Linked DNA regions of Homo sapiens: region 2 is linked to region 1. The links are contacts of gene promoters, found by promoter capture Hi-C in human tissues and cell types (Jung and others, 2019). All regions are on one chromosome and are shown on one strand. The core of a region is centred on a gene start or on the middle of the fragment in contact, and the rest is flanking DNA. Distances in the headings are between cores, read along the strand shown. Region 1 holds the start of NKX2-8 (NK2 homeobox 8). Region 2 has its middle 99 kb from the start of NKX2-1-AS1.

The links. Contacts are between HindIII fragments. The study calls those that stand out against the background at their distance.
Region 2: a fragment that was not itself captured here is called in contact with the fragment with the promoter of NKX2-8 in region 1 in 2 of the 25 tissues and cell types used here (mesendoderm cells and thymus).

The regions. Positions count from the first base shown.
Region 1 is chr14:36,579,131-36,586,025 of GRCh38, forward strand. NKX2-8 (NK2 homeobox 8) reads right to left here and starts at 3,484. Exons shown (of 2, transcript NM_014360.4): 1 at 3,103-3,484; 2 at 874-2,334. The coding sequence starts at 3,259. The coding sequence ends at 1,772. RefSeq lists enhancers at 1,254-2,064, 2,065-2,875. The HindIII fragment of the contact is 13,278 bases long and covers 1-6,499 here.
Region 2 is chr14:36,416,611-36,424,075 of GRCh38, forward strand. No RefSeq gene overlaps it. Among named protein-coding and RNA genes, the nearest start is that of NKX2-1-AS1, 99 kb to the right of the region's middle. The HindIII fragment of the contact is 4,158 bases long and covers 2,123-6,280 here.

The DNA of each region.
Region 1 (6,895 bases), core at 2,234-4,733:
CAATCATTTATTAGAAAGGGGTTTTATGATACAAATTTGATAATCTCCCATGCACACTGGCACTGTTCTAATTGAAGTTGTAAGCCCATAAAATTCAAGCCCTTTGTCTTCCTGAAGGCCACAAGGTTTAAAAAGATACTATTGTCCTGCCTAACACCCACTACATTGTCACCAGGGACTGATTAAACAGAGTCCTGAATCCAAACAGTGCGGATTTTGTCTAGGTCCTTTTCAGGCCTGACAATGCCCTTTTCAGTTCCCAAGACAAAAAGAGGTTTAAGGATCGAGATTCTTCTAAGATAACCGCATCCATATGGAAGGCAAGGTGGCCGGCAGCTGAGACCCAAACACCCCACTCCCTTCCCCCTCTCCCCTTCTCTCTTTCTCTCTCCACCCCCCAAAATCCCAGGTGATAACACTGCCTCAGCCACCCTTCATCCTCCCCTTCTTCCTCCTTGGACAAGAAAGCTAGAGCCCCTAACAGGCCCATGACTCCTCCTTAGAGACCTCCATAAGGGCCCTTGGCTCCCTTCCCCGCACCTGATGCCCCAACTGCTCTCCTCTGGCGCATCTCCCAGCAGCGGGTGCCTGGGAGCGAGGTCGTCGCTTCTGTGAGAAAGTGACTGCTTGCACAAGAGGCCCTAGCGGGGCAGTTACAAATCCAAGGGGTGCTAGTGTGCACTGGCCGGGGTGGACCTGCCCCAATCTCGGATTCCCAAGGCTCCCCCAGGCGGCCCTCCCTCAGCTGGGAGTCGCGTCCTCCCGGATCTGCCCAGAGGAAAAGCCCTGTGCCGGTCGTTCCCCCGACCCTTTGATGTCTTCACGTCCTCCTCCCCACCCTGGCCAGGTACTGCGCCATGAGGAGACAGGAAATCACAGCTAACTTAGGCACTTGCAGGCTTAAATAGGGGTTACAAATTCCCCGGTGCTCTTCAGGTCCCCAGGCACTTTTCAAAGGGTCCCCGAGCACTTGGCTCCTGCACTCTGGAAACAGCTTGCGGCCCGGCCTGGGCTGCTCCGGTGCAGCGCGCCCCGCACCTGGCCTCGCCGGCTCATCTCCGGAGAAACTCCTTCTGCCCTGTCGTGGTCCACAGGGTTGACTTTTCGGTATTCGAAACGCCAGCAGCTCTGGGAGCCCAGCGGAGAGTCGGAGTCACTCTGGGGCCAGTGACGCCTCCCGCTGACAAGAATCCCAAAGTTGCCTCAGCTTCCTCCTCTCCTTTTCTTCCCGCGCCCAACCCTGACATCACCACCCCTCCATCCCCCAGGTATCTTCCTAAAGCCGTGTCGGGACTGCAACCCGCCCTTCGATCCAGCTGGGGCCGGGCCCCACTTAGCCAGTCAAGGGGCGAGCCAGCGATGCGAACACCGGTCTGGGGGGCACGACTCCCGCCTACGTTCCCCGCAGGCGCGCAGGGGACCCAACCCCACACATTTTATTCTCGAACTACGAGGAAAAATACTCTATTTTTTAAAAAAATAACTTGCTTCCTATACAAATCGCTATTTAAAAATATACAAATAAGGCCCAAGCATAAAATCTAACTCTGGGGCTGGCGGTGGAGGGAAGGTGAGGGAGGGGGCTCTGGCACACGTCCCTCGTGTGTGCTTGCGCGACGGCTGATGAGGGCGCGCCAGGGACCCTGGCGCCCAAGGAGATGGGGCTGCAGGGAGGCGGACGGAGAGCGTTCCAGGCGTTCGGCTCCGGCCCTGCTCCAATCGCAGAGCGCGCTCCAAAGTCGAGGGTAGCCCCAGGTGCCGCCCTGCGGCCTCACCAGTTCCAGGAGACCAGGGCGGGGGATGCTAAGTGCTGGTAGGCGGGGAAGAGGCCAAGCGCCGAGCCGGGACCGAAGGCAGGGTAGCCCGGCAGAGGGCAGGCGGCGGCTGGAGGGGCGCCGCACTTCTCCTGGGCCGCGGCGGTTCCCACCTCGCCACCGCCGCCGCCGCCGCACGGCTGCCCGTCGCGAACAAGCACCGGCACCACCACGCGACGCAGCAGGCCGGGCGCGGCGTGCAGCTCGGCGGATGCTGCCAGGTCAGGCGACTCCGCCGCCCCTGGAGCGCGAGCGCGCTTCAGCTTGTAGCGATGATTCTGGAACCAGATCTTGACCTGCGTGGGCGTGAGGCGAAGCAGGCTCGCCAGCTGCTCGCGCTCGGGCGCAGACAGGTACCGCTGCTGCCGGAAGCGCCGCTCCAACTCCAGCGTCTGCGCCTTGGAGAATAGCACCCGCCGCTTCTTCCTTTTCTCGGCGTCCGAGCCCGGAGACGCGGGCCTAGCGGACGGCCGCTGCGACGAGTCTGGCGGGCTGGTCTCCAGGCTGCTCTCGTCCGAGGCTAGGGACAGCAAAGGAGACACGGGTGGGTGAGACGCCGGACCCTACGAGGGCCTGCTGCCCTTCTGGCGCGGGCGTGGAGGCACTGGCCAGAGGGCACGCCCACTAGCCCGAGACTTTCGGGATGAGGCCATTTCCTGAGTCCACATCTGGACATCCACCTCTCCGAATGCGGTGACCTCATTCATACCACAGCGGTCATCAGCGGGCCTGAGATCGTGCCCCGAAAAAACCCACCCCGGGGCCCTCTTAACATGTCCGCACCGGTAGTTGCGCTGGCCGACCAGTTTATCACAAGCTGGGTCACCAGCGCCGGCCTCCTCCAGGTCGACTGCACTGCAGTGTGCCGAGGTTTGCGGAGCCCTGAGTGGGAACGGGGTGGGGGTAAACTCGCCAACACTGGCCATCCCAGACGGAGGCCTGGAGATCGTGGCCGTGTTTTCAGGCATGGAGAGGGGGCGGGGGGTGGGGTGGGGGCGGCAGGTGGCGGCGCGTTTTAAATTTCAATTATTCCGACCTCTAGAAATCGTCAGACACAGAAACCCCAAATCTCGGAGCACCAGTGCCAGGCAGGGATCTGCTCTTAGGATGTGCCGACCGGGATGAATGCGTTAGGGGTTCGAGGACAGGGCTCCCGTTTCCAAGACTGAGGAAATCTAGACTCTGGGCTGGGATTTCGGCTTTCCGGCCCCTCGTGGGCTGGGCCCTTGATTCTGCTGCCCCACGCCTCCTACCTCCCACCCCGCACCGCAATCCACCACGCACTTACAAGGGTAGTGGCCGCGCTCCGAATCCAGCCAGGCGGCGCAGGGGTCGGGCTGGGGGGCGCGTGGTTCTGGCTCCCGCCTCGGCAGGTGTTGCGCGTCCTGCTCGGGTAAATCTAGAAGGCTGCGCACGGTGAAGCTCAGGCGTCCAGAGGTGGCCATGGCCGAGGAGGGGAAGGAGGCGGGGGCAGGGCAGGCTGGGAACGGAGGGGCGGCCGGGACGCCGCTCCTACGGATGGGCGTGGGAGGCGCTCGCCATGCGCTGGCAGCCGGGATATTAGCGCATTTACAGCGGAATCTCTGTTTATATAAACAGCTCTTCCCACCCAGGCCGCTTTGAAAGCCGAGGTCCGGGTCTCCAGGGTGTTAAGTACCTGAATGAGCACTGGACCAGAGCCGGGGCGAGCCCGGAAGGTGCCACCTCCGCCCCCGCCCCGCCCCGCACCCCGCCCCGCACCCCGCCCCTTGGCGCCCAGTTACCTCCCAGAGGCTGCAGGAAGCAGCATTTGGCATTAGCGATTCTGTCTGATTAGCCCAAAGTGGGGACAGATAATGGGGATTGTTACCAGTGAATAACATCTTGGGTGGCGAGCGGTGGCCACCACCCGCCTGACCCAGCCCCAGCTTCCTCCTCCTCCTCCTGGGCTGACTTGAGGCCAGGCCCCGCGGGAGCGCCGGGAAGGGTGGGGGTGGCAGGGGTGGGTTTATTAGCACCCAGGAATTTATTCCCTGTTTGCTTTATTCTTCGAGCTTGTTTGCTGGAGTGGTAGTTTCCCGCAATTATCCAGAAAGTGATTTACAAAGCGGCGTTAAACTCTGGCGCGCTCCCTTTCTCTTTTTGGTTGGGCCCCTCTAAGATTCAGGATGACAAGTTTCAGGAGGGCGTAAAGATTAGCCTGGCCCTGCCAGCATTGGCCCAGGGGTTTCAACGGCCGCTGGGAGCCTCGGATCACACCATACATCCCCCTAACAGCCTCAGAGGTGCTGAGGAAGGGCTGGGACAACATTCGGAGCCCCAGCTCCACGTCTCCACAGGCCGGCAAAACAGAAGAGGCTTGTAGCCAAGCTACTTAGGTCTACAGTGCCTGTCTCTTTGGCCCAGCTTCGCCCGGCCGCTGCCGATCTCGGAGCTCGGAGGCCGAGCTCCACAAATTTGGGTCCAGGCCCGCTTTAGAGCCCCTGGGCGGGGGCGCTTCTCAGGGCATCCTGTGAGGGCTTTGAGGCCTCCTTGGAGTCGCCAGATGAACTGGTGCCGCCTGTGCGCCTTGGCCCCATAGCCTCAACGGCACTCTCACTGCCTGGGCTTTGGTCTTTGCCCAGGAGCCTGCCCATGGCCTACGCTCCCCGCTCGCAGCATGGCAGACCCTGACGAGGCTGCCCGCCTTGGTCCGGGAATGGACCGATCGGGAGAATTAGGACAGGGCCTACCCGGCAGAAAATACCACCGGCCATGGGTTTCTCTGGGATCTTCTAGTTTCCACAGTTCCACCCTAGAAAATGATCAATGTAGGAGGCGCAGGGAACAGGCCGCCGTGGATACATTTTGTTGGGCCATGGCCTAGCTCTGGCCGCGCTTCAATCTACAGAGGAACGCCCTCTCAGAGGCCTCTCCTACTGAAGCTAGTAGTTTGGATATTTAGTTGCTAAATTGTAGCGAAGGGCTCTGTACTTGGGTGGCTGCACCAGAAGTCCTGGCTCCTCCCGGGCTGAACTCGAACCTGGCTCGGATGCGGCGGCGGCGGCCCTGTCAAGCCCCGCGCACCCTCCCCAGCAGCCTCCCTATCAAGCGTGCCCGAGGTGCCCGGAGCTGCACCGCGCGCTGGGTGGTCGGGCGGAGGCAACCCCAATACAGGCCAACTGCTAGGCCGCGGACAAAGGGGAAATGGAGCTCGACGCCCCGGACCTGTTGGAAGCATTTGTTCCAGTCAAGATTTTGCATTTGTTCAGTCCGGAATAATGCATGATTGACGTCTGCTCACAATGCGCTTTAACGCGCCGGGATAAATCGGAGCTTGTCCGGTGTTGTCATGGTTTTCAATGGGGTTCAATGGGATTGGGAGCACGATCGACTCTGCTGGCCGTCTTTCCGCGGCCCTGGCAATAGATTTATTAGTTATGTCTTTTTAAATAAGATTAAACTGAAATGACTTGGCTGTCCTCTCTGCAGACGGGGCCGGGGCGGGAGCCTGGAGTGGGCAGGGGACAGCGGAGTCTGGAAACCCGCCGCGCACCGCTCCTCAGCTCCCGAGCCCCCAGCGTCTAGAGAGTGGGCAGGTCGCAGACTGGCTCCAGGCCTCGTGGACTTATCTCTGGCCAGAGCCCGAGGCCTGGCAATCTCTGCCAGCCCACCTCCCTAGTGAGAAGCTGAGGCACTGACAAAGACCGTCCTGGGGAAGCAAGTGTTAAGACTGATTCCCAAATTCGGTCTTGAACTATGAGATTGTGTAAGGTAGAAGGAGCTCTGGCCTGGAAATCGGTTCGCATCCTCGCTCTGCCCCTACCTATCTCTAACCACCTCATTTCTCTAAGCTTCCTTCCTTCCTTTTTTTTTTTAAAATTAATCTGATACAGAAGATAGTAGGAGAATAGATTTGGTAATTTCTAAGGACCCTACCAGTTTTATGATTCTGTATCTCAGGAATTTTTCTAAACCTATCTTCATTGTAGCATTTACCAGCCGGATATTTAGACTCCCTCCTCCCTCAGGTTCTCGAATTCTTAGCCCCAGGACTGACTCCGTCTCCAGGATGTTCTAGGAGAGGAGGTGTCATCTTTTGAGTTTCCCAAGGATCCTCCACAGGAGTAGGGTGGGGTGGATAACAATTTAGGGAAGAGAACCAAGTCAGGAGAAGCAAAAGAAGAGTCTTTCCTTGAGTGACTGACCTCTCTTAGCCTTTTAATCTATTTAACATCCTAAGCCCACACTGACGTGTAGAAATAAGTAAATGGCGCTCTTCAGCTCTTAAGAGCTCTTCAGCATCAAATATTTGCTTTTACTCTTAGTGTTTGGCTTCCAAAGCAGAGATACAGGCCCCATCTAGCACTTGTGCTCTGGGAAGGACTTTGCTCTGGGATTCGCTCCAAATATTACTTCTAGCTTCATGTTCACGGGCTTCGGAAACAGTGTTCCTGGGCCTTGGTCTGCATTTTAGATGTCCCATGGAAACCCTGTAGCTCCTGGTTCTAGAAAGGGCTGCAGCTTACCTGCTTCATCTTGGATTCCCTCCTCCTCTGCCATAAGTGCCTCTGCCATAGGCCAACCTTCCTCTCAGCTCTGCTCCGCGGATTTAGCTGAATTATCTCTGAGAGCTAGAACCGGGGGACTCCAAGAAATTGTTCAATATAAACTGTGCCTTCTGAAGAAATGCAGGAAAGCCAGAATTAGAGAAAGGTACTTTCTATATTGCCTTTTCACATCAGATAAATTCACAGACATGGGAGGGGAAAATTATTTTGATATTGGGTCAATAGGAAAAGACAGTCAAGCTAATCTTAAGTTTTTTACACATTGGAGATATATACGAATTGCCTCCAATTCCCAAGAGATTCTTAGAATCACAAGTAAGCATTTAACTGGACATTATTTCCAGATTTTCATATATTATTTGGTGTTCTGGACAATTGAACTTCTTTGCAACTTAACATACCATGTGAATATTATTATTTAATTAGCTAAGTAGTTGTTTTCTTGTAATTGGATGTAGTATATCTCAATTCCAGTAAGAGTTTTTAATGTTTAGGCACCTGTAATATATGAGTATATTTAAGCTGTCCACAATAATCATCCTTTCAGAAGTA
Region 2 (7,465 bases), core at 2,952-5,451, 160 kb before region 1:
AAATGATGCTGGGAAAACTGGCTAGCCATATGTAGAAAGCTGAAACTGGATCCCTTCCTTACATCTTATACAAAAATTAATTCAAAATGGATTAAAGACTTAAATTTAGACCTAAAACCATAAAAACACTAGAAGAAAACCTAGGCAACACCATTCAGCACATAGGCATGGGCAAGGACTTCATGAATAAAACACCAAAAGCAATGGCAACAAAAGCCAAAATAGACAAATGGGATCTAATTAAACTAAAGAGCTTCTGCACGGCAAAAGAAACTACCATGAGAGTGAACAGACAACTTACAGAATGGGAGAAAAATTTTGCAATCTTCCCATCTGACAAAGGGCTAATATCCAGAATCTACAAAGAACTTAAACAAATTTTCAAGAAAAAAACAAACAACCACATCAAAAAGTGGGCAAAGTGTATGAACAGACACTTCTCAAAAGAAGACATTTATGCAGCCAAAAGACACATGAAAAAATGCTCATCATCACTGATCATCAGAGAAATGCAAATCAAAACCACAATGAGATACCATCTCACGCCAGTTAGAATGGCAATCATTAAAAAGTCAGGAAACACCAGATGCTGGAGAGGATGTGGAGAAATAGGAACGCTTTTGCACGGTTGGTGGAAGTGTAAATTAGTTCAACCATTGTGGAAGACAGTGTGGTGATTCCTCAGGGATCTAGAACTAGAAATACCATTTGACCCAGCCATCCCATTACTGGGTATATACCCAAAGGATTATAAATCATGCTGCTATAAAGACACATGCACATGTATGTTTATTGTGGCACTATTCACAATAGCAAAGACTTGGAACCAACTCAAATATCCATCAATGATAGAATGGATTAAGAAAATGTGGCACATATACACTATGGAATACTATGCAGCCATAAAAAAGGATGAGTTCATGTCCTTTGCAGGGACATGGATGAAGCTGGAAACCATCATTCTCAGCAAACTATCACAAGGACAGAAAACCAAACACCTCATGTTTTCACTCGTGGGTGGGAATTGTACGATCAGAACACTTGGACACAGGGTGGGGAACATTACACACCAGGGCCTGTTGTGGGGTGGGGACTGGAGGAGGGACAACATTAGGAGAAATACCTAATGATGGGTGCAGCAAACCAACATGGCACATGTATACCTATGTAACAAACCTGCAAGTTGTGCACATGTACCCTAGAACTTAAAGTATAATTTAAAAAAAAGAAAAAGGGGATGAGTGGAAAAAGGATGCCAAGGTTGAGAATTGTTCAGATTAAAGATATTTTGCTACCTGAAAGCTACTGATGCTTTTCTTAAAAATCCACAGCCTCTCAGTTTACCTGACTGACTGAATGAGACATGACTGAGGATTAAAAATTCACTGGTGTGAACAGGGTACCCAAGCCAACCAAGACAAGTTTTGGGTTGGGACTTATCAGGACGTCTGATATGTGAAAAGCTATTGTAAAACCCTTGTTGAATCAGAGAAGCTTGAATCCTTTAGCTTCAGATTCAGAAATATGACAAGTCAAATGAGCTTGGACACAAAGTCTGAGGCCCACTTTATTGTATGCCCCTGGGTATAACAAAAAGCAATCCCCTTTTCTTTCTCCCTCCAGGTATGGGAAGTATATTTCACAAGTTACAGGAGGCTGTAAGGAAGCAGGGGAAGGGAGGGAGTGGATGGGAGTCTCCACTTGGAGGTGAGGTCCATGTAGGGGAACAGCTAGAGCTGTGCTACTGAAGGCTTTCTTACTGTCAGATCCACTGGCTGGTATGCCCTGTCTGACTCTCTCTGCCTCACCTCAGAGCAGGACTCACCTCACCTCAGGGTACAGGACTCCTACATTCTCACAGCCAGGAGCATCCAAAAGCTGATGGGGCCTCATCCCAGTTCTGGCTGCAGGACACTTCCCTCACAAGAGCATCGGCTATTTCAGTTTATTTTCATCTAACTATAAAGGGATATAGAAACAGCATAATAAAAAATGCTTGCGCTGTAGAATTTACAATCTAGCTAGTGATGTGGAATAGAGCACAGATGACAATCTATGGTCATGTAAAGTTAATGAGAACAGTACAGGCAGTCTAGTCCATACCTGCAAAGTACAATGAAGTCAATCAAGGAAGGTTTCTTGAAGGCATGAATTTTGGGTGCTGCTTTAGAGGGTGATTCTTATGGGAGCAGGGGATTCCTTGGGGGTCAAAATGGACATTGCCAAGGTCAAATGAGGGGAGTGAGGAGGCTCATCCTGCCATGGCACAGAGCAGCTGTTTCTGGGATGGTGGCAAAATGGGCTCTGGAAATACACTTCTAGCTTGGCTGGCCAAGTTCAAGACAGAAGTGGGAAAGACATCAAGTTCTAGGCAAGGTGGCTATCACCCAGTATGAACCCTGCATAATGCTGGCCTGGTTAGGGTAGGGGAGAAGTCTACATTGAGAAACAATAAAAGTATCAGTCACTGTGGAGGTTAGAAGGTTGGCCTGGCTAAATGAGTTTAGATTTCAAATGATTGACACTAGGAAGCCTATGGAAGTTCTTGAGAGAGAAGTGACATCATGCAAAGGGGTCTAAAGAAGCCAATTCTAATAACTGTGTCCAATGGGTTGAAGAGGAAAGAGACTATATGTGTATGAGGGTAGAAAGGGCACTAGCTCAGGGGGTGTCTTTGTAGCCCAGGAGCACAGTTGTCCATCTTACACTAAAGCAAGTGTTTGCTGATTTGGGACCAAACCAAGGATTAAGCTTTCTGGTGTATTATAGTAGGCATCAACTTTTCAAGTTAAAAAAAATTGATGCAATCTATTGGTCTCTTGCCTCAAGAAATAAGGTAGAAAAAAAAAACAACATTGAGATTGTGGCTGCTCAGGGTCATCCATTATGCCAAATAAAATGTTTTTATAGGGCCTGAAGTTTGCTAAACATGACTGCTAGTACTCTATCCCTGCTGAAATAGGATGTTTATCCAGAGGGGATAAATGACCTCACAAAAAGGTCAATTGCATTAATTAAGAGGGTTCTACTTTTGCTAGAGTTGGCCGTATTTTGGTAAAAAATAACACTATTTTAAAAATAAGCCCCAAGCAGTAAATTTACAGATCCAAGAAAGCAGCGACTATCTTCCATATATGCAATCAACCCATGTGTAGTCTTGTCACCACACTGTAGCATGCAGCTGATTGACACTCAGCAGGGCAAAAAAGCACAAGTGGAGCCAAAGATGTAATGATGAGGGCCTCCAGTGCCTGTTTTTGCTTAGACTAGTGATTCTCAGCCCTGGTAGGGCATCCTTATCTCCTGGGGAGCTTTTCAAAGATAAATGATGCTGGACCCTTGCCAAAATCTGAATCTCCAAGGATGGAGCCTAAATATATCTATGTGTATGTCATCTGCATACTGCTGGAGTTGTGAGCCACTGACTTAGATGGTGAAGCTGAAATGGTCTCCCACAAAATTGCATACACTTGAGTGCACACACACACACACACACACACACCTGGGATAGCCAATCAAGCTTGCCCATTTTTTCTTATAAACAGAAGTGTTTGTTCACAGATATTCTGGGAATATTGGGTTCTCAGAATCTTTACATTCTTCAACCATTTTAAGATCAGTCTCTAGGATTTTCTTAAACCTGAGTACTATTGCAACATAGGATTCCCAAACACCATGACCTTCTTACAGAGTTTTCCTGAGAGTAGATGAACCCTCCCTCACTGTCCTGTGGGATAACTGGAAGGACAACCCTTCATTTGCATTCTATCCTCCGCCCTGCAATATTCTCTGGAATCCACATTCCTTCCTGATCCCTCTTCCAAGAAATAAGAATCGGGGAAGGAAATAGTCTCTGAGGGAAGAATCTTTGTCCCAGGAACCAAGTTACAGAGGAGCCGCTGAATTCCCTGAGGTAATCTCCATTGAATCAAAACACAAAGAGGGAGGTTAATTCAATTAGCAAGTGATGCCTTCTCCTAGAATAAACTTCTTGGACTAATTTGGGGAGGGAGCCCCGAAGACTGGTGCCCACACTGCAAACAGAGAAAATATTGGAAATGCTTAGAGTCTGCCATCTACCCAGCCGTGGCTGTTCACCTTAATATTATTTCTTGAAAAATGGCCAATGTGTTAGACTCTCTAGGACACAGAGCTGTGGTCACAAGATAAAGTACACAGATAAGACATGGAGATATGGAAGGGATAAAAATACTCTTCAGGGAAATGGGGGTCTGCAGTACAAAGGTTGAGAGCTTTAAGGGAACATTTCACATTCTGGCTTTTAAGTACACTGAAAACACACTTCCTGAGAGAAATGCATCTTGAGAGTACACTCAGCGAGGAGGAAGAAATTCTTATAAGACAATTTTTGGGAGAAAAGGAAGGTTTTTTATTCAAGTCAACATGGTGTTTTGCATGTAATAGAACCAGAGAAATATTTGTTAAATTGAAAGTTATTTCAGTATAGATTGTGGTCATGTTTTCATCCTATAATTTGAAAAAGATCCTCAGAATATTAGAGATGAAAGGGATCTTGATATTGTCAAACATCTTATCCAGAGCCCCAGTACTTACTCGATTCAGGTGGGATGAGCATCTCACTGAGGGTCTGGGATCTTCCTGCTGGGTCTTCCTTCTGCAGTGGCCCCTGAGCAACCTTGAAGAAGCCCAAAGTCTTGGGTGATCATGGTTTGGAAGCCTTCAGTCTAGCACCTCAGTTTTTACAGATGACTAAACTAAATTCAAAATGTGTGAGAGTCAGAGCCAACTGCTCTTTTCACCATATCAAAATGAGGTTCTGCTAGAGGGACCCCTGTCCCTTTCTTTTCCACAGCTGTGGATATTTTGCCCTGGACTTGTGAAGCACAAATGCAGTGAAAAGAGTACGGGCTTGGGGATCAGTCAAACCTGGGTTTGAATGTTGGCTCTGCACTTATTTGCCCTGTATTCTGGGACAAATTATTTATTTATATTTTAGAGTATATATTTTTCTCTTTTTTAAAGCTTTTTTGAGGTACAGTTGATATACCAAAACTGCATGCATTTAATGCATACATCTTAATGAGTTTGGACAAATGCATACACCTGTGATACCATCACCACAACCAAAGTATTAAACATGTCCATCACTTTGAAAAATTTCCTTGTGTAACTTCTGTGTGTGTGTGTGTGTGTGTGTGTGTGTGTGGTTTTGTTTGCTTGTTTGGTAAGAACACTTAACATGAGATTTATCCTCTTAACATATTTTAAAGTGCACAATATTGTGTTGTTAACTATAGGTACTATATTATGTAACAGATCTCTAGAACTTATTCATCTTGCATAACAGAATCTTTATAATTTGGACAAATTATTTAATCTCACTGAGCCTTCACTTCGTTTATCAAGTGGGGATAAAATTCACATTTTAGGTCTTAGCAATGTATAAAAAGTGCCTGGTGTGTGATTTGGGCTCAGTATGCGTTAACACCCTCTTTCAGGCAGGCAACTGAGGATTTGAATATAGAGACAAGAGAGGTGGGGGTGCTGTCATAATAGTAGCAATAATAATGATACGTAATACTTAATACTATGCACCAGGTTCTACTCTTGGCATTTCACATAGTTTAGCTCATTTAATCTTCAGAACAACCCCACGCAGTAGGTACTATTCTTTAATCCCCATTTTACAAGGAATAACGCTGGGGCACAGATTGGTGAAACTGCTTGCTCAAGGTCACAAAGCTAACGAGTAGGGAAGTTGGAATCCTGATGTGGCTCTGAATCATACTCTCAATTAGCATATACCATTTCTGCAAAGGTGCAGATAGAAGGCAAGAGAGGGCCAAAGTAGGGGGGAAATGGAGATGATGCATGGTTGGTTTGGGTGAAAGGAACGTGTAGACTTGGCATTAAAAGGCATCTTTCCATGGACAGAAGTATCTACAGAGCAGGGAGTTCACAATTCTAAAGCAGAGAAAACGGCGACCTCTCTTTCTCTGTCTCTCTCCAAATATGTATTCAGTCATATGCTTCATAGCAATGGAATGCATATACAATGGTGGTCTCATAATGGAGCTGAAAAATTCCTATCACCTAGTGATATCATAGCTGTTGTAACATTGTAGTGCAATGCATTCCTTTTTTCCGTGTTTAGATACACAAATACTTAACCATTGTGTTATAATTGCCCAGAGTATTCAGTGTAGTAACGTGCTCTACAGTTTTATAGCTGAGCAGCAATAGGCTACACCATAGAGCCTCGGTGTGTAGTAAGCTACACCATCTAAGTTTGTGTAAGTGCACTCTACAATGTTCACATGATGAAGAAATCGCATAACAATGCATTTTTTAGAACATATTCCTGTTATTAAGCAGTACCTGATGGTACAGTTTATATATCTCTATCATTTATCTATCATCTATATTTCAATACATCAAACTATCATATATTGAGCACTTACTGTATGTCAGTACTTTCATGCATTCCCTTATTTAATCTTCACAACAGAATCCTGTGAGACAGGGCTTTTATCCAGATTTTAGGAGGTAAAATATCTTGCCCACCGCCACACACTTAATAAATAGTGGTGCTAGTATTTAAAGTAGCCAGTGGGCCTTTAATGCTGTGTGATCCCCAAGTGTTTTTTCCTATACTAGTTATGAAACTACTTTTCATACCCCTTCTTTACTTCCAAATTATTTTTATCTACCAACACTAAAATAGTGTATTTATGTCAATGGTTATATAAGTCTTCACTTGTGACCTCCCAGGCCCTATTCTAAGTTCACAAATGACATTTTAATATTGTCCTTTTCTAGGGAGAGCCTCTCCTAGCAGGCCACAGTCTCAAACTTCTTTAAACATATGACCTTTGCCCTATTGTCACTCTTTTGTACAGCACCACAGTGGGTCAAATTATCTCCCCTGTCCATAAACAACTGCACTTGTGAAGTAGAAATGACTATTAAAAAGAGTGGTGGGACCCCCTGTTGGGAACTCTAATAGGCTCGGCCAGGGACCAGAGAACATTACTATCACATCCATATGTGTCCTCTTACCAGGGTCAGCCTCATGGAAACAGGCACAATAATAGCTTCAGACAAAAGCCGGGGATGATATCGAACTGACTTTCCCAGGAGAATCCTTTCTCAGAAGGCCACGACATTCTTGATTAGAGGCAGCGAGTCAAAGAGGAGGAATGGATGTGAGGTTTTTTTTTTTCATATTTAAAGCTGGTGAAATTAATTCGTATATGCTCTCCCAGGGATCTTTATTTTTTTTAACTGAGCCTTTAGTTTGGTCACTCAAAGTGAGGGGCTCATCAAACACCAAGCCTGTTCCTTTCACTGTGAAGAGTGTAACAGAAAGTATGTTGTTATTGGTATCTGTTGTTTAAGCAAGACAGGCAAACTAAAAGCTCTGCAACATCAGCCACATCACCCACCTTCACTCTCATCATAGTTTTACAATTGCATGCTTTTT